Linked DNA regions of Homo sapiens: regions 1, 3, 4, 5, 6 and 7 are each linked to region 2. The links are contacts of gene promoters, found by promoter capture Hi-C in blood cells and fetal thymus (Javierre and others, 2016). All regions are on one chromosome and are shown on one strand. Each heading gives the region's core, a stretch centred on a gene start or on the middle of the fragment in contact. The rest is flanking DNA. Distances are from core to core; before and after follow the strand shown.

Region 1 (2,700 bases), core at 197-2,696, 480 kb before region 2:
AGACTTAGAGTCCTTTTCCTTTGTCTTATCACTCTCTAAAAATGTACTGCTTTTTTTTTTGTGAAAAATGTTACATAATCCTAATTTCAAAGCTTCCTCTGAGATTTAGTCATTCTGTGGGTATCTCCCATATATACATGAAACATACATGTTAATAAACTTTTTCTCTTGTTAATCTGTCTTTTGTTATAGGAGTCTGTCCTAACTAAGAACTATGAAATGTAGAGAGACTATTTTTTTTACGCCCCTACAGATGCGGTACTGTCTACTTCCAAAGGGTACTCAATGGCATCTCCACTGGACCAAACTTATTGGCATTATTATCAGTTTCCTACAACAGAGTTTTGAAAGAGCTCATTAAAGACAATGAAAAGGACAGACCCCAGTCGTACCACTTCCTAGCTGTGCAGTGCTGGACAATTTAGTAAATTGTGATGTGGGCAATATGAATAGAAACTGTGCTGATAAATTTGCGATGATTCGATCAGTGAATGCCTGTAAAATGCTCAGCACCAGGTCTGGAATGTAGTGAGTTCCTGCTTGGTAGTGATTGCTGATATTCCATTTTACTGTCACCGTGCTGGGTATTTTCCATTGTCACAATCTATTCTTGGCCATTCTCCACCCTGCTCTGTGGCCCAGGAGGCACCTTTCCTGTGGCTTCTGGTTGGGTTCTACCAATTCATTCTTTCCCTCTGGAATTGCCTGGGAGTGGCAGCATCCCTCAAAGATCACAGCTCCTCCCGGGAAGCCCATGCCACCTCCAGGTCCCCATAATTGTCCCTTCCTGTCCCTTCAAGGCATCAGGGTGATAATAGCTCTCTGTTACCAGCCCTGCGTTTTTGCAAGTCCACTATGGTGTCCCATACTCTGCCCACCCCTTTGTAGATAGTGCCTTTACTAAACACACCTCAAATTACTCATGCTGAGAGCACCATCTGTGTCCTGGCAGGAACTCGACTGATGCAGTCATCAGCAATTTTTTTTTTTTTTTTTTTTTTTCTGAGATGGAGTCTTGCTCTGTCACCCAGGCTGGAGTGCAGTGGTGTGATCTTGGCTCACTGCAACCTTTGCCTCTTGGGTTCAAGCGATTCTCCTGCCTCAGCCTCCCTAGCGCTAGTCACCAGTATTTTTAATACCCCACTGTGTCCATCTCCGTTCCTTGAGTGATGCTGATGCTGCTCTTGAGTCTTATGAAAACTGAAAGCTGGATCCTTTGCTCCTGTTTTATCTTAGATGTAACTTCTCAGCAACGCTTGCAGCACAGGGAGTGAATGCCACCAAAGTCCCACACCAGAAGGCGGCATTCCTTTTTGTGACTGATCCCAAACACATGTACCAGGAAGAGAAGAGTGAAGAGATGAAGGGTCCATACAAAGATGAGTCTACGTAAACAGACTTTACTAAAAGAATCCTTATTTTCCCTTAGTTCCCCCGTATATGTCCCAGTTACTGCCCCACAATTTATGATCCTCTTTTCTTTGTTAAAAGGGCACACAAGCTCTCAAGTCTAACTGCTTGCGTTTCACTTCTTTTCTGTGAACTCTCATGCACATAAATATGAATAAAAATTGTGTGCGTTTTCTCCTGTCAGTTTGTCTTTTGTGAGTTTAATTCACAGGCCCCCAGTTATCTCACCTAAGAGGGTAGAGGAAAAGTTTTTCCTCTCCAATACCAGTGTCCCTGCTTCATCTCAGAGAAAAGATTATGGGCCCTTACAATGGATCATTTAGAAGAGGTTTAAGCTCTGTACTTTTTTCAGGAAGGAGCATCTTCAAATCTTACAAACCTATTTCTTGCTAATTGCATAACACCCATATGTTATTATGAAAATGTTACCAGGTTATTGAAAAATCTAAATTCAGTAAAGATACAAACAACTGTCTTATTTTCTCTAATTATTGACTTTAACTGTGCTATGTCTACTCTCCGTTAATCAGATTTCAGCCCTAGTTTTCCAGTCATTTTTACGTTTTAAAAGTCCAGTCCGGGCTAGTTTAAAGTTTGAAGATTCAATCTCATACCCCAATTTAACTTCATTTCCCAACCCCCAGAGCACACCTGGTTTTGACCTAAGGCATCTTGAGGAGGAAGGGATGTGGTCTGTTTTTTAGCTCTTCTTCCTCTAGTGCTTTAGGGGTTGAGGAGCAGGCTGGGGAAAAAGGGACAAATGCCTCTTAAGGGGTGTTATTGTTTCTTTTTGAGACTTTCCTGGCTTCTCTGGCAATGGCTTCTACTGGGCTGGCAGCCAACACCTGCCTTCTCATGGGGCAGATAACTAAGTTATATAAAAGGCCCTGGGTGGGGGACCTTCCCTGACCTGAGACAAACATTCTGGCTAGACATATGCGTAATGCCTCCTGGATATATAGAGATGGCTATGGAATCTTTGCTACTCCTATCATAGAGAGGAGGAGTCTCTTTCCCCTCCCATTGAAAGTAGGCTCACCTTAGTGACTTCCTTGGCTGATAGAATGCAACGGAAGGGACAGTCTCAAACTTCTGATGCTAGATCATAAGAAACCTTGCAGCTGCCATCAGGGTTTCTTGGACCTCTGAGCCACCATGTAAGAAGTCTGACTGTCACACTGGGAAGGCAATTGTAGGTGTGCCAATCAATAGTCCTAGCTGAACCCAGCCTTGCAGCCAAGGCACTAGACCAGCCCTTCCACCAGCTGCACACCACCAGAGGCCCTCACC
Region 2 (2,700 bases), core at 28-2,527:
TAATTAGGCCAATTAATCTCAGAGTTAGATTATTTTAGGTTGCCCAATAATCCTATTTAATCCCAAGTATAAATAAACCAATGAAACCTTAACATGACATATTCATCTAATCAAAGAACAATATCCAGTTGGAACTGTGAAGTACTACTACACAGTCACACTGAAATGTCACCAATTCAAAAATAAGTACCTGATAAAATGAGACTTTTGGCAATCAACTGTAATGTTCTAAAGGATCCACCAAAAACTCATTCTTGTCTCACACACACACCCAATGCCTGTTCATTAAATGACACCAAGAACAGTTTAACTTCAAACTCTAACGCCAATGAAACAAATTCAGACATAAATTAAAAGATGACCAAAAGACTACATGAGTCTTGACATTTTATCCAAGTATTTATGAATGTTAAATCTAAAGTAGTTAACTCGTTTTAACATCACATGCAGTTTACGACCTTCATCAAAATGAAAAGGAATTCTTTCAACATTCTTTTCATCATCACAGAGCTTTAAACACAAACTTCCACAGTCACTGCTCATTTCACCATTTTACAAAATCGTCCCCCATCACCACCCCACATAAGCTAGTCAAAGAAAAAAAAAACTGACAGCTCAGTCTCCCACAAAATGCACTTACTTTATCAAATACCGACATTTATTTTCAAGTGCAAGAAAGTAACAGACATTTGCAGCTCAAGACAGGAAAAGCACAGCCAGCCTTACTACCCCCACTAAATTTCTCAGACAAGAGAAAAGTAACTCGGGACAGGCAAATTAAAACCATTCTACACATGGCAAAAATATAAAACATCTATGTCCTACAATCCATAGCGATAGTACTGCTTCCTCTCTTCCCCAGCCAATACCAATAAGCCAATAGACACAAGTGTCAAATAAATCCAGTGTCCGTTTGAAATAAAATGAAAACCTGGAAAAATTCCCTCCCATAAATCATTTAGCGAACACAAGGCTTTTCACCCAACACTTAATACACTCAACCCAAAAACACACACAACCCACCCGCAAATACAAAAAAAGCCGTAATCAACAAGTTGGAAAAAGGGCAGAAAGTAAGGCTCACTACCCTCTCACTTAAAAAAAAAAAAAAAAAGTCCTTTAACAAAAGGTAACACAGATCTTCAAGTACCTGGTGGAGGTGCCTTTCCTCACATCGCAGATGCTGCATTTAAAGGCTTCAGCACTGTTTCTGAAGGTGCAGACGCTACAATCCCAAAACCCTTCGTCTGCGGCAGGTTTCGCTTGTCTTTTTGGCCTTCCGAGGAGTGGAGAGTGGGGGAAAAGGGAGGGAAGAGGCAGGGAGCAGGAAAACGGGGGAGAGACAGCAAAACACAGACGCGGGTGAGCCGTCGTAATTTCGCAGGAATCCAGTGCTGGAAACTTCGCTCGGGAGACCACCCACCCACCCTTTCCGGGGACTGGAAGAGAGAGCGAGGAAGGGAACCGGGCGCCCCCACTGGCACCCTGCAAGCCCCGGGCCCGGGCCGGATAGCCTCGCACACCAGGCGGTGGCGGCGGCGCCCCGGGAAGGGCCGCGGCGGGCGCAGGAAGCGGGCGGACTTGTGGACTTGAGCGTGGGGCTGGGGGGGCCGGGAGGGGAGCCGCGGGCCGGATCTGGAGGGGGCGCGCAGGGGCAGCCCGAGGCCGGCGACGGGGAGTGGGCCGGCTCCTTCCCTCTCCACTCCCAAGCTCGCGCCCTCCCTCCCTCCCCACCTGGTTAAATCCATCACAGTCTCCGGACGAGACTAGTCCCCGCCAGCGCCGCCTCCGCCGAGTGACTGACGAGGGGCGGGGCCTGGCGCCGCGCGTCACGCGCCGTGCGGCCAATGGGAGGGCGGCGGCCGGCGCCGCGAGGGCGGAGGCGGGGCGCGGGGGAAGGCGGGGCGTGGCGGACGTGGGCCGGGCGGTCGGTGTGCGTGCCCGGGAGTGTGTGCGCGCTGGGGGCGCGCGTGCCTGTCGGTGGCCCCGCGGCCCGGCGCGGCGGAGCGTGCAAGCCCGGCGGGGCGCACGTGGCCGCGCCCGGGAGCTGGCAACTGGCTTCGGGCCCCGCACGGCGCCCCGTGAGGCTGTTGCCGGGACCCCGGCCCCGAAGCCGCCCCGGGGAAGTAGTTCCACGCAGTTTGCGCGCGCCGCGGGAGCTTGCAACAGCCTCACCGCTCGCAGCGCCTCGAGGCTTGCAGTGCCCAGGGGCCGACAAGGTCCACCTTTGGACCGCGTTCCCCCGCGCCCCTCTGTTCCTCTGCCATGCGGAGCTTTGTATTTGCCTCTTCTGAAGTCCCTGCGTCCGGCCGAGACGCTGGCCCGAAGCCCCACTCCCTGTCAGGCCCCTGTCGCGGGAGGGAACAGTAGAGAAAGGGCGTGGCATAACTAAATGCCCCCAGGCCAGACTCTGAGCTTCTGCTGGCGGACTCCTCCTGGGATCCTCCTCTCCCCTAGAGTCTAAATAGGGCGTTTCCTTAGGGAAGTTGCTATTCAAATTCTGGCGACCACATGCCCGCATTAAAACCTCGTGCCTCAGCTCCTTCATCTCCAAAATGGGGCTCATCCTCCCAGGGTTGTTTTGAATATTCGGAGAAATCAGGCATGGAAGGTTCGCTGATGGATGCCTGGTATTCACGAAGGACCAAAACAAGATATTGGGTATTAGGAGCTATTATAACTGGGCCTGAATTGTGCACC
Region 3 (2,700 bases), core at 29-2,528, 460 kb before region 2:
GAAGACAGAGGAGGAAAAGTCCACATGAAGGCAGAGGCCGAGATTGGAGTGATGTGGCCACAAACTAAGCAATGCCAGGCTCCACCAGAAGCTGGAAGCAGCAGGGAACAGAATCCCTGCTACAGCCTCCAGAGGGAGTGCAGTCCTGCTGACACCTTGACTTTAAATTTCTAGCTTCCAGACAGTGACAGAGTACATTTCTGTTTTCCTAACCGAGCCAGTTTTTGTGGTATCTGTTACAGCAGCCACGGGAAACTAATACAAGTTGCTAACAATTTTTGGCCCTAACAACGTTTTCAGGGCTTTAACCCTTAATCTTCATAATGATGCTTTAAATGTTTTAATTAAATTAATTTTTTTCTTCTTATAACGAAGCTTTTTGGGTTCTTTTAGAAACTGGGTCTCGCTCCGTTGCCCAGGCTAGGGTGCAGTGGCGTGACTGTAGCTCACTGTAACCTCAACCTTCTGGCCTCAAGCAGTCCTCCCACTTCTGCCTCTCAAAGTGCAGGGATTACAGGAGTGAGCTACTGCACCCAGCCCATAATGATAATTTAAGGTAAGGATTGTTTTTGCTTCATTTCATAGGCAAGGAAACTGAAAAGCAGAGAGTTAAAGTGACTTATCCAGGTACATTAAGCAAGAAAATGGCCAAGCTTGACTTCAAATCCAGGCTATCTGATCCCAGAGCTAGTACCTTTAATGACTGTGGCCTCCTGCTTCTCCAAGCGGAATTACAAGCAGAATCCACCCCCTCCTGCCTCATGTGTGTAGTAATTGTTGGAACGCGGTTCCTTGCCTCTCACAACAGTTCCCTGTGCTCCCCTGGCAGGCAGGATATATACACATCTGACTGGGCTGAGCTAATTGGACTCTAAATCTGCAGGGAGTGAGGCAAAGCCGCAGGGTGGTTAATTTCTTCCTGGCGGTGGTAGTGGTGGCATCCTAGGCAGATGCTTCCTGTTAAAATTCATTGTGGTTCTTCCTGTTGATTGACCTACTGCAACTGCCTTGATTCCTGCCCTGTCCAGTCCCCAATATTCTTTCTCAATTCCTTCTCCACTGAAGAAAGCCAGAGTTAATTTCTGTTGTTTGAAATCAAAAATCTGTCTAATGCAGAGGAAAAGCTGGCACCTGGTGAACCCCAGGCAAAGCAAACATCTCAATGTAATCCTCAGCTTACCCTGTGCCTTCTTTGAGGCTGAGCTCAGCACTGGGGCCAGTGCCCCTGCCTCAAATAGATCAGTTTTACAAACTATTAGGAGGTAATATAGATGGGGCTGATGATCTCAAGGAAAATGAGAAAGGGAATTTATAGCACTGCCCAGACTGAACTTCATAAAACTCTAAAAACCTCTCTGTCTTCCCCGTCACTTCCTCTTAAGGAGTTGGCTATCTCATCTTCTCCAGCCCCTGGCCTCTGTGCATTTCCACTCTGACCATCAGCTCACATTCCCTACTCAAGAGAAAGGAGCCCTGGATTTCTCCCTTTAAAAATCAGTTCAGGCCAGAGGTGGTGGCCTACTCCTATAATCCCAGCACTTTAGGAGGCCAAGACAGGAGGATCACTTGAGCCTAGGAATTTGAGACCAGCCTGGATGATATAGTAAGATCCTGTCTCTACAAAAAAAAAAAAAAAGCTGGACATGGTGTCAGTCATCTATAGTACCAGCTACTCAGGAGGCTGAGAGGGGAGGATCATTGAGCCTGGGAGGTTGAGGCTGCAGTGAGCCATGATCATACCACTGCATTCTAGCTTGGGTGACAGAGCAAGATCCTGTTTGCTTAAAACAAAAACAAAAAACTAGTTCAATGAACATACACTGTTTCTCAAACATTCTTGGATATTCAAACTGCACAGGATGTAACTTATGGGCCTCCATATATTTGCTCAGCTTCACTATTCTAAGCTTTAATCTTTAAGCAACATGAGCTAAAACATCTCCTCATAAAAATAGATGTTTCTTGGGTGGCTGGGCATACACTGTCCTGGAGAAAATAAAATTATCCTCTCAATATTCTATCAGGGAGGGGCTCACATCTGTATCCTAGGTCCCCATATTCTAATCCCCGCAGCAGCATCAGTCTCCCCTGGAGTAAAGGCAAAGCCTTCCCATGACCCCCGTCATGCCCACTCTGAGGCCCAGGACTGACCTGACTCATCAGGGCCCTGGCTCCTCCCTCTAATTCCAGGCGCAGGAGAAGCATCATGCTTTGGGGCGTGGAATTTGGCTTCCTCAGTGGCTGCTTAGATGGAGATGACACCACCCAGAAATGGCATGAGTCAATGCCCCATGGAGCTAATGTTGACCAAGGAGAGACCTGGCAGTGAAGGAGCCACAGTTAAATTCCTTGCACTTTGCTCCCCTGATGGACTCTTCTGAGGCTTAGGAGTACCTCTTTTACTTCTCTGCAGATGTACTGCATGAACAAGCAACCTGCTGTGTTTCATTGTGAAGCTGTGGCCAGCCCAATTGGTAATGCACCACCTACATTTGCGTTCCTTCCTTCTCCACCTCATTTCTTTGTTCCCTTATTCTTGTGGCCTGTGATTGCACCCCCAATAAGCACGGTCAGGTAAGCATCATCTCAGGCTCTATTTTCTATGGAATGTGAGCTAAAATATCTCCCAAGAAAAATAGCTCCTTCTTATGTGGGAGGGCAGATTTTGCTCTGAAGAAAATAATAATTTTATTACATTAT
Region 4 (2,700 bases), core at 57-2,556, 500 kb before region 2:
TGGCAAGGACTGGGAGGGTGAAGACTGAGGGGATATGGATGAACCACCAATGGATCTGGTAAGCAAGAAAACTTTCTGTTCCTCTATTTTCTCATGTGTGAAATGTGGATGGCTAATAGCATCTATCTTGTAGGCTGTTGTGCGGATTACAGGAAATAATGCTGTAAAGCAAGGGTCTCCAACCCCAACCGCACCGCCCACCCCGTCCCCCGCCCTGGTAGCAGTCTGTGGCCTTTTAGGAACCAGGTCACACAGCAGGAAGTGAGGAGTGGGAGAGCCAGTGAAGCTTCACCTGTGTTTACAGCTGCTCCCAATTGCTCACATTACTGCCTGAGCTCCGCCTCCTGTCAGATCAACTGCGGCATCAGATTCTCAAAGGAGCACAAACCCTATTGTGAACTGCACATGCAAGGGATCTAGGTTGTTCACTCTTGATGATAATCTAATGCCTGATGATCAGTCACTTTCTCCCATAACCCCAAGATGGAACCGTCTAGTTGAAGGAAAACAAGCTCAGAGATCTCACTGATTCTACATTATGGTGAGTTGTATAATTATTTCATTATATATTACAATGTAACAATAATAGAAATAAAGTGTACAAAAAATGTAATGTGTTTGAGTCATCCCAAAACCATCCCCACACCCCTATTAGTGGAAAAATTGTCTTCCATGAAACCAGTCCCTGGTGCCAAAGAGGTTGGGGACTGCTGCTCTAAAGCACACACAGAGCATGTTAGTGATCTATTACAGCTGACCCTTGAACAACATGGAGGCTAAGGGTACACAGTTGAAAATTTGGATATAACTTTTGATTCCCCAAAATCTTAACTGCTAATAACCTACTGTTGACCAAAAGCCTTACTGATAACATAAACAGTCAATGAAGACATATTTTGTATGCTCATGTATTGAAGCATATAGGTGGCTGTATTCTTACAATAGAGTCAGCTGGAGGAAAGAAAATGTTATTAAAATCTTAAAGAAGAGAGAATATATTTACTATTCATTAATCATAAAGGTCTTCATCCTCATTGTTTTCAAGTTGAGTAGGTTGAGGAGGAGGGGGAAGAGGAGGAGTTGGTCTTGCTGTTTCCAGTTGGCAGAGGCAGAAGAGGTGGAGGAGCTGGAAGGGGAGGCAGGAGAGGCAGGCATGCTCAATGTAACTTTTATTGAAAAAAACCTGCATATAAGTAAACCTGCATAATTTAAACCCATTTTGTACAAGGATCGACTGTACTCTCTAACAAACCACCCCAAAACTTAATGACTTGAAACCACAGCAATCATTTATTGTACCTCACAGTTTGCATGGATAATTCAGATGGAGTACACTTGGGGCCGCTTAGCTCTGCTCCACTATCTGGGGGGCTGCAGCTGGAAGACTTGGAAGCTAGGGGCTGGGATCATCTGAAGGCCTAATCAGGGCTGGAGCATCCATTTCCAAGGTGACTCACACACATGGCTGGCAAATTGGTGCTGGATATTGGCCAAAGGCATCAGTTTCTCCCCACACAGGCCTTTCCTGAAGACTGCTTGAGTGTCCTCACAACATGGCAGCTGCCTTCCTCCAGAGCAAGCTATCCAAGAGGCAAAGGCAGATGCCTCAATGTCTTTTATGGCATAACCTCAGAAGTCACATACCATTCCTTATGTAATATTCTTCTGCTCACACAGGTCAACTCTGCTTCATTGTGGGAAGGGACTACCCAAGGGCATGTGTACTAGAAGGTAAGGACGACAGAGGGCCATCTTGGAGGCTGGCCACCAAACAAAGTGATAGACGCATAATAAGAACTCAATAATATGAGCTATTGTTTTCATTCTAAGAACAAAAGAGGGCCCCTTGGTAAAGACTTCACTCTGGAGAGGCAAGAAACTGAGAGCCAAGTTTCCCACCTGGTGCTCACCCAGCTCCTCCCAGCCACTGCTCCCTGGGGGTACACAGCTTATTCTCTGCTTGATGAAAGGTCTGCCTCTCTAACCTTCCCTGGAGCCAGGCAGGTGGCACTTGGCTTTCAGCATGCATCTCAGCAGGCAAAGTAAACAGAGGGTGCAGAGATATCCATAATGCTGTAATTAAGCAGAGAAAGGTGCTAACTGCAAATCCGGAGCTCCAAATGTCCTCCAAGGGGTAGTTAGGGCTGTGTAGAATCTGTTAACTGGCAATAACTTTGAAAGGAGGGTTTGCCAGAGAGAAGCCAACGTCGACATAGATCACCTGCAGACAACCGTAGGCTGACTGTGCATCCAAGCTCATTTGTTTTAAACTGAAAGCTCTGAGCCAAAGAGTCCAGCCTGGGATTGAATTAATGATGAGCATGAATGAAGCTTGGCATTGCTTCCCTCACAGACAGGCAGGCAATCAATGAATTTTTCATGTCTTGCTCATGGTGCCATTTTCTCTGCCAGGTTCTCAGACCACCCTTGGTACGTGGGCTGTGAGGGGTGGGGTTGGCTGGAGAGGGGAATGACTTTATTCTCTACTTTCTCTACAGTCACCCACAGCAGACACTTTGAGAGTGTCTGCCCTGTTCACAACAATCTCCTCTTAACAACCACACCCCCTTAGTTCAGCAGGCATTTGGTGACGTGTGATAACATGTGGCCTCTCCTGTGGCTATAGGTGACTGCTTTGCAGTGGGCTCTTGACTCACATTGGGCCAAGCAGAGTCCCTTCCCTGGGGATGTGGAAGTGGA
Region 5 (2,700 bases), core at 76-2,575, 380 kb before region 2:
CAATTTACAAAAGAAAGAGGTTTAATTGGACCCACAGTTCCACGTGGCTGGGGAGGCCTTACAATCATCGCAGAAGGCAAGGAAGAGCAAGTCACATCTTATGTGGATGGCAGCAGGTAAAGAGAGCTTGTGGAGGGAAACTCTCCGTTTTAAAAACCATCAGATCTCATGAGACTTATTCACTGTCACAAAAACAGTAGAGGAAAGACCTGCCCCGATGATTCAATTACCTCCCACTGGGCACCTCCCATAACATGTCGGAATTCAAGATGAGATTGGGGTGGGGACACAGCCAAACCATATCAAAGGGCTAAAGAAAAAAATATCCCTTATTTTAACCTCTACTTTCCCCTTACCCTATCCTCATGCAATGGACTACCTAAGAGGTGGGGAAGGGAAGATTTGCCAATTACTACCAAGGGAGTTAAAAACTTGAAAGCAGCAAAAGAGGAGTATTTTTGATGTTCAGGTTTTCTTAAGCAAGGCCACATTGTGCTCAGAATAAATTATACAAGACAGAAGGAGAGAAAAGTTATAGGCTAAATACTATTTATCTAGTAGGGGTGAGGTTGGGAAGATAGAGTTGGAAGAACAATATCATCAGGGTCTTAGGGAGTGAAGTTTCTCTGGCACACACACAAGACAGAACTTTGGTGGTTTAAAATATGTCCAAAAGTGCTTGGCAGTCCTCCTAATTTCCATCCCCGACTTGAGTGTGGGGCTGGACTTACTGATTTACTTCTAACCAGTAGATATAATGAGACTGATCATGTATGACTTCCAAGACTAGATCATAAGACACACTTAAGCTTCCTTCTTTCTTAGGTCACTCATTCTGGGAAAAGCCAGCTGCCATGTCATGAGGATATACCAAACAGTATATGGAGAGGCCATATGGTGAGAAATTGAGGGCTTCCACCAACAGCCATGTGCTCCTCCTGCCCCAGTTAAACCTTCAGTTGACCATAGACCCAGCTGGCATCTTGACTGCAACTACATGAGAGACCCTAAGCCAGAGCCCAGCTATGTCTCAAATTCCTAATTCACAGAAATTGTGGAGATAGTAAATATTTTTTTTGTGTTAAGCCACTAGATTTTAGGGGTAATTTTTTGTGCTACAATAGATCATTATTTGATTATTAGTGGGGGTGGGGAGATAGAACAGGAAGAATCCATCATGAAGATTTTAGGAAGCAAAATTGCTCTAGCACATGACATATAACAGGTATCAACATTTCTTGCCTCTTCTGTCTACTGAATTGAAACAAAATACTGGAGATAATCTACATATTATCTACAGAATTCTCATGGAACCAGAATTTCTGGGTCAAAAGATAACTCAGAGAGTTGAAAAATCTTCATTTTTTCCCATAATAGATAGGGAAACCTAGATTCAGAGAAAATAAGTGATTTTCCCGAAGTTCTTTTATCCAGTTTGGAGGAATCCTGGTTTAAGTTGTAGGCAACAGGCAAATTCGGAAAAGTTATTGATATCAGGAATTTCCAGCTGGCCTAGGTAATAATGTTTTCTGCACATCACCAATACTGAGGGTTCACAAACATATTTACAATAGCCAGGAGACAAAGCTGTCTGTGGAATTACAATTCAGTATCAATATGTAAAACTGATTTGTTGTTTGTTTAAGGAAAATTGTTGCAATCTTTCCTTAAGCAAGTTGTAAGTCCCCAAGACACAGAAAGTGTTGACTCATATTGAGCGGCTTCATGTAAACAATTGGTTTGCCATCTGACAACTCTAGCCTTCAAAAGGCCCTGGAATGCAAAGACTGGTTAAGGAAAACCTCTAGACTGGAGATGTCCCATGGAGGTTCCCCAGCTATTAAGCTTGTTCTTCAGCTCTTGAGAAGATTGCTTTTCTGAAACAATAATTTTTTTGCCATCACTTTCAATGGCAAAAACTACAATTACTTTTACACCAACCTAATAATAAGGGATGGTCTGACTTTATGGAGTCCTAGATCATTTCAATTTGGTGATGTTCAGGCTTTCTTAAGTTCCATGCCTTAAGCACTTTTTTTGAGCCAGCAAATAGACACCTTTATACCAATTTGATACCCAGAAATACTCAGGTAGAAGCTTCTTCAGAGACCTGCTCTAATTTCTCTAACCATCACCATCTTTTTATAAGTAGTAATAAGTAGTAATCTGGAGTTCTATAAACTTGACTTTTATACATCACTGTGCACAACCCAGCTTCTGTCCTCCTCTCCCACTCACTCAGGTACCACTGTGCCCCTTGATCACTCCACTCCAGACACATTGACCTTCCTTTTGTTCCTAAAATAAGACAGATTCTTTCCCATCTGAGATCCTTTCCATCTGCTTTTCTTTCCATCTGGAATATTCTCATCTCATGGCTCTTAGAATGGCAGTTTAATGCTCAGTGTTTCAATGTTCACGTATCAATTCAAATGACCCCACCTCTTAGAGAAGCCTTCCCTGTGTGGGCACCCCTCCCTTTCCCATCTGTGACAGTCAGTTGTATGTGTCAGCATGGCTAGGCTATAGCTCCCAGTTATTCAATGGAGCACTAGTCTAGGTGTTTCTGGGAAGGTATTTTGTGGGTGTGATTAAAGTCCATAATCTTTCAGTAAGGAAAATTATTCTCCATAGTCTGGGTGGACCTGACCTAATCAGTTGAAAGGTCTTAAAACTAGAGTTGAGGTTTCTCTGAGGAAG
Region 6 (2,700 bases), core at 5-2,504, 440 kb after region 2:
GAGAATGGCTTGAACCCGGGAGGCGGAGGCTGCGGTGAGTTAAGATTGCACCATTGCACTCCTGCCTGGGCTACAGAGTGATCCAAAAAAAAAAAAAAAAAAAAAACTGAAAAACTCAGGGACGTTGTTATAACTTAACTAGTGTTCTTTGTTCTGTGGTGTGCTGAAAAGAGAGTTAATGGAGTCCTGGCTGTCAGTTCACCGTGAGTCATAAGAGGATGTGTCCTAATGTTTCAGATTTGTAACTGGGGATCCCCTGGAAGAATCGTCTGGAAATTACGACCTTCATCTGGCGATTGCAGCTGTTAAAGTCTCCAAAGAAGCCATTCTTACATTGTGTTGTGAAATTATTACTCTATCTCAAATCTGTGCCAGAAAGAAAATAAAATGTGTGTTTATGTGTATATTATAAGCTATGTTTTATTGAACTAATCATTACAGAACTTTTATTGGGCACCGACTGTGAGCCAGGCACTGTGCTAGTTTCTTTGAAGGCATTATTTAATTTAATGCTCACAAAACGCCTCTGTAGTGAGCAGTATTGTCATTCCCATTTTGCACGTAAGGAAGTTAAGGCTTAAGAAAGTTGTGCAGCTTCCTCAGGATCACCAAGCCAGTTAAGCACAGTGTCAGATTTCAAATCCAAACTTTGAAATTCATTCTCTAATTTCTTCAGACTACATGGATCGGTTCGGTCCAGTCTAGCTGTCCCAAGTTCTACTTTGGTGTTTTGAGTCTGAAACCCCAACTACTAATCACGTGTTACTTTTACTCGCTTTGCCTTATTTTGCATGTGTCCTTGTTGAATATGTCCTCCTCCAGGAAAAAGGGAGGTGGCAAGACAGAGGCGGCAATAGGGGTTTATTCAACAGATATTTATTGGGCACCACCACCCGCAGATCCCTGCACTGGGCAAACAGGACAGAGATGTTCCTGCCTGAAAGGATGTGTGGATAAGTGCACAAATGTGTGGATAGATGGATAAAATAAATAAGGAGGAAGCACATGGAATACATCAACAAATAAGTGAATCATGGTATGAGAGAATCAGCGGGAACAGTGGATGGCATGGGTGTGTGAGTGAATGGGGAAGTAAACGAACGAACGAACGAATGAATGAATGAAGTGGTTTTGAGTCTGAGCTACCAGAAGCCCGAGAGCCTGGCTGCGGGCGGGCGGAGGGGCGGCTACTCCACACAGTACGGTAGGCGCAGGCTGCTCCTCCTGTAACCCAGCTCTCACCGCCTCCCCCTCCTCTCCTCTCTCTCCTCCTCCTTCGCCGTCGCCGCCGCCGCCGGCCGCCCGCCGGCCGCCACGACCCCAGTCCCCGGCGGGCGGGCGGAGGAGGCGACCGCCGCGCGCTGCTGCACTCATCCTGCCGCCGCCGCGATGCGCAGAGGGGCCGAGCCGCCTGGGGGCCGCCGCCGCCGCCGCGCCGCACCATGAAGCTCCGCAGCAAGGCGGCGGCGCTGCTCTTGCTCGCGCTGGCCGCGCTGCTGCTGGCGCTGCTGTCCCTGCGCGCTGGCCGCGCTGAGCCCCCAGCGCTGCCCGCGCGCCCCGCGTCCGCCCCGCAGCGCCACCCCGCGCCTGTCCCCGCGCGCTGGCCGGGGCCGGGCGCCCTCCCCGGGGCCAGCCCGGGAGTTCGGAGGCGCCGGCCCCCGCGTCCGCGCCCCCGAGCGGGCCGCCGGGGCGCTGCGAGACTGGAGAAGTTGGCGAGGTGAGTCGTGGCAACCCCAGAATCCCATCTGCGGACCCGTGTCTCGCTCCCTACACCCGTGCCAAGTCCAAGGGAGGCTTTGCGCTGGAGAGACAGATTTCCAAGTTTCACCCACGGGCTGCCCACTTCTGTTTCTTAACCCGATAGAAAAGAAGACCCACCTTGGTGGAGTCCCCCTAACAGCTCGGTGTTGATAATCACGTACATTTTTTGAAGTGTCAAGGAAAGTGGTTTCGTACATTACATTTTTTAACTGTCAAGGCAAGGCGTATTTTTGCACTCTTGCAAACATGCACCCTTTGTTTAATTTGTCAAAAGCCATCACGGTGCAAGAATGTTTTATCTAATTCTCATGTTTCACTGGAGAATTTTACCGAAACCTTAGATATGGTTGAGTTGGAAAAGTTAGATGTTTACCAAGGACTGGCAGCCTCTCATTTAACCTCGAGTACCCCCATGCTTAGAACAGAAGGGACACTTGACCTAAGTTTATTAAAAAGAAGTTTTCTCCTTGAAAGGACTGATGCGTGGCACAGAAAAGACAGAGTGGGGGTTTCCAGATCCTCATTCTGTTTCAGGCTCGAGTGTGGTCAAAGGGTCCTCCTACAAGAAAAACAACTTAACCTTCGACCTTCTGTTTGATACTCTCTTTCCCTACACAAAGCCTAACACGCGGAGGCTTTTCATCAGAGAGCTTTATTTTTGGCCTCAGGGTTGCTGGAACGCCCCGCAGGTTAGGGATTTGAGTTCATTTCCTTTGTTGTGGAGGGCTTTTCAACAATCCCCTTGTCTTGTAGCGAGTCTGTTTCATCTGCCCTTTCAAAACTGTTGTTTCTAACTGCCATTGCAACGTCCTTGTTTGCTGGGCTCCTTAATTTCAACCTGAAAGGAGTTGAAAAATTATTTTTGACCATAATGACTAAATCTCTTTGGTGCCTTTACTGTAACTAAAAGACACGAAACCTCAAGAAGTAGCTGTGTCA
Region 7 (2,700 bases), core at 136-2,635, 390 kb after region 2:
AACCCGGGAGGCGGAGCTTGCAGTGAGCTGAGATCACGCCACTGCACTCCAGCCTGGGCAACAAAGCAAGACTCCGTCTCAAAAAAAAAAAAGAAAGCAGCTCTTTTTCCTCTTTCCTCTTCCCCCTGGCCTCCAGATTCAGGGCCTCCACTATAGTCATGCAACATGTACACAGCAGAACATGAGTGTTCAGAGCAGTGCAAGCCCCACCCAGGCTTGTTCTATGCACAGTCACATGCAGCAGCCCTGTTCAAACTGGACTCTAAAAAGAAACAGAAACAAACTAAAAGCAAAGGTAGCTTGGGGTTTAGAAGTAGAAGGCATTAATCAACCAAAGGGAAGAAAGAGGATGAGAAGTGTTCAACTACAGTAGGAAAAAAAGGTTCCTTTTTCTTTTAAACAATTGCTATGGCCACTAGTTATTAGAGCTATTTAAAGATAGACATTGCCAAGAAAAGGTCAGGTAGGATTTAAATTAAGTTTATGGAAGTTTAGGCACAGGTTAGGCAGAGACAATCCAGAAAGAAAATAAAGAACAATGAACACATCTGGCTAGTGGGTATCCCGGAAACAATGGCCTCAGGTCCCTGTGTAGCCAAAAGGACAGGGCCAGCAAGCCTGGCGTCCTGCAGCACTGGCAGCAGCAGTCCCAGGAGCTTGCTGGGTTGGCGCCCAGAGACTCTAGGATTGTTGCTGCTGGCAGCCACCACTGCCAGAAGCTTGTTGTGAAGTCCTGACTTTGAGCAGCTAGGGCAGTTTTCCAAAGGCACCCTGGTGGCTGGCAGCAATTTCAGAAAGGAAAAAAAGACTGGGGATAGGAAGAATATATCTCTGGGTATGGGGAGTGGAGGGAGGAATGTTCAAAGAGAATTTGTTTCAGCAAAAATATTTTATTTTCTTATTATCAGTATAAAATATAGATGTTTACAAACAAATCCTGTCTAAAAAGTTGGAGGCAAAAAAATATGAAAGACTTCTGTAAAGGGCTAAATTATTCAATGAAGAAAAGATCCCTCAGTGTTGAAATTATGAATAATTTTTTTACTTTCTTCTTTGTATATTTTTATAATAAATCTGTATTGCTTTTATTATTAGAAACAAAAAAGCCATTTTTCATCTACAGGGGGAGGAAAAAGCTGTAAAAATACTCATATGAGTAGTCAATGAAGCTGTATGGACATCTCTTCATCTATAGGCAGAACTAGAAAAAATAAACTTGTGAGAAAATACTATTTGAGAAAATGGTGAAGTTTTCAAAATCATTTTAAATTAGAAAAGATGTTCTAAAATCTCTTATTTGTGATCATCATTTCAGTTTCTTCTAGCTGCTTTACTCATAGAATTAGGGTCATATTATTAACCTTACATGATCACTCAGTTTTGAACCACTTGTTACGGCTGCCATAAACAGCAGCTGTGAATGAAGAAGAACTCTACAAGTAATTAACCAATTATGCAAGATTTCTGTGGCAATATTTCATAAAACCTATCTACCTTAATATCTTCAAGAGGATACATTTCAATTTTTGGAATCTTGGGCTTACACTTGATTTCTAAGTCTGGTTGCTGCACACGCAGTGCTCAGCACAGTGCTATCCAAATCCCCTGGAGCAAGGTGAGCTTCAGGATTCACTCTTTCAGAGTTTAGAAAGGTAACATGGTGCACACACCATACTTTATGTAATAACCTCTAAGATGTCTGGGGCAGCGCCCATATCCAAACACTACTTCTACAGGAAATTTTTGAATACGTACACTAAGTGGGATTTAAAAATCTGTATCGGTTCAGGTTAAGTTTTGCCACCAAATTAAATATTTTAACTTTTAGTTTTCAGAACTTTGTGTGATCCCAGTATTGCACATATGGGGTTATAAACCTGTACTACAAGTAGTATACTATTTACGTTATAAAACCCTTAGAGTTTTCCCAAATGCTCAGTTGTTTTTCCCCTACATTAGGGAATATTCATTCAAATTGTTTAGAAAAGCAATGCTCTTGCAATTAAAATTTGAAGAAGAGTTTAATGATTTTAGATGATTAAGCCATTTTAAAAGCTTAGAATAATAAACATTAAATTCAGTGGTTCATTTCCTTTTTTATTTTTTTGAGATGTAGTCTCACTCTGTCACCCAGACTGGATGGAGTGCAGTGGCGCAATCTCGGCTCCCTGCAACCTCTGCCTCCTGGGTTCAAGCGATTCTCCTGCCAGCCTCCAAAATGGCTGGGATTACAGGCATGCGCCACCACGCTCAGCTAATTTTTGTATTTTTAAGTAGAGACAGGGTTTTGCCATGTTGGCTAGACTGGTCTCAAACTCCTGACCCGCCTGCCTCAGCCTCCCAAAGTGCTGGAATTACAGGTGTGAGCCACTGCACCCAGCCACAGTGGTTTATTTCTGATGGGAAACAGAGGGATGTAAACAAAAAGGGATTAGACAGGAGTCAACTATATTGGTTAATGTTTAATGTTTTTAACCTAAGTAATAGATGTCTAGGTATTTGATACATTAGTTAAGACATCCAAAAAGAAAGTATAGCAGCTTAAAAAAAAAAAAAAACCTAAATTATTAAGTGAACATTTTCAAGATACAAGAATTTCTGACCTAAAAGGCACTCATTCTAGGCTCACATTATGGCATTCCTACAACATCTCAGCAACCTGTCAGAAATCTTTCAAAAGGATTTTCCGTAAACAGAAGC

The links. Contacts are between HindIII fragments. The CHiCAGO score rates a contact against its expected background, and 5 or more counts as called.
Region 1: a fragment that was not itself captured here is called in contact with the fragment with the promoter of RYBP in region 2 in 6 of 17 cell types (naive B cells, M0 macrophages, megakaryocytes and 3 more); the score reaches 10.0 in naive B cells.
Region 3: a fragment that was not itself captured here is called in contact with the fragment with the promoter of RYBP in region 2 in 6 of 17 cell types (naive B cells, M2 macrophages, M1 macrophages and 3 more); the score reaches 8.2 in naive B cells.
Region 4: a contact is called between a fragment that was not itself captured here and the fragment with the promoter of RYBP in region 2, in 2 of 17 cell types (total B cells and naive B cells). The highest score is 6.7, in total B cells.
Region 5: a contact is called between a fragment that was not itself captured here and the fragment with the promoter of RYBP in region 2, in 2 of 17 cell types (naive B cells and total B cells). The highest score is 10.9, in naive B cells.
Region 6: the fragment with the promoter of GXYLT2 here is called in contact with the fragment with the promoter of RYBP in region 2 in 3 of 17 cell types (fetal thymus, neutrophils and naive CD8 T cells); the score reaches 11.0 in fetal thymus.
Region 7: a fragment that was not itself captured here is called in contact with the fragment with the promoter of RYBP in region 2 in 3 of 17 cell types (M1 macrophages, M2 macrophages and erythroblasts); the score reaches 6.9 in M1 macrophages.

The regions. Positions count from the first base shown.
Region 1 is chr3:71,962,102-71,964,801 of GRCh38, forward strand. No RefSeq gene overlaps it. Among named protein-coding and RNA genes, the nearest start is that of LINC00877, 140 kb to the right of the region's middle. The HindIII fragment of the contact is 2,712 bases long and covers 91-2,700 here.
Region 2 is chr3:72,445,346-72,448,045 of GRCh38, forward strand. RYBP (RING1 and YY1 binding protein) reads right to left here and starts at 1,278. Exons shown (of 4, transcript NM_012234.7): 1 at 1,151-1,278. The coding sequence starts at 1,278. RefSeq lists silencers at 1,595-1,654, 1,715-2,124. The HindIII fragment of the contact is 10,688 bases long and covers 1-2,700 here.
Region 3 is chr3:71,987,116-71,989,815 of GRCh38, forward strand. No RefSeq gene overlaps it. Among named protein-coding and RNA genes, the nearest start is that of LINC00877, 110 kb to the right of the region's middle. The HindIII fragment of the contact is 1,254 bases long and covers 652-1,905 here.
Region 4 is chr3:71,942,698-71,945,397 of GRCh38, forward strand. No RefSeq gene overlaps it. Among named protein-coding and RNA genes, the nearest start is that of LINC00877, 160 kb to the right of the region's middle. The HindIII fragment of the contact is 2,045 bases long and covers 285-2,329 here.
Region 5 is chr3:72,067,087-72,069,786 of GRCh38, forward strand. The region is part of intron 2 of LINC00877 (long intergenic non-protein coding RNA 877); the gene reads right to left. Among named protein-coding and RNA genes, the nearest start is that of LINC00877, 32 kb to the right of the region's middle. The HindIII fragment of the contact is 1,036 bases long and covers 808-1,843 here.
Region 6 is chr3:72,886,792-72,889,491 of GRCh38, forward strand. GXYLT2 (glucoside xylosyltransferase 2) reads left to right here and starts at 1,255. Exons shown (of 7, transcript NM_001080393.2): 1 at 1,255-1,717. The coding sequence starts at 1,443. RefSeq lists silencers at 1,295-1,524, 1,625-1,754. The HindIII fragment of the contact is 7,571 bases long and covers 1-2,700 here.
Region 7 is chr3:72,836,409-72,839,108 of GRCh38, forward strand. The region is part of intron 4 of SHQ1 (SHQ1, H/ACA ribonucleoprotein assembly factor); the gene reads right to left. Among named protein-coding and RNA genes, the nearest start is that of SHQ1, 11 kb to the right of the region's middle. The HindIII fragment of the contact is 1,336 bases long and covers 718-2,053 here.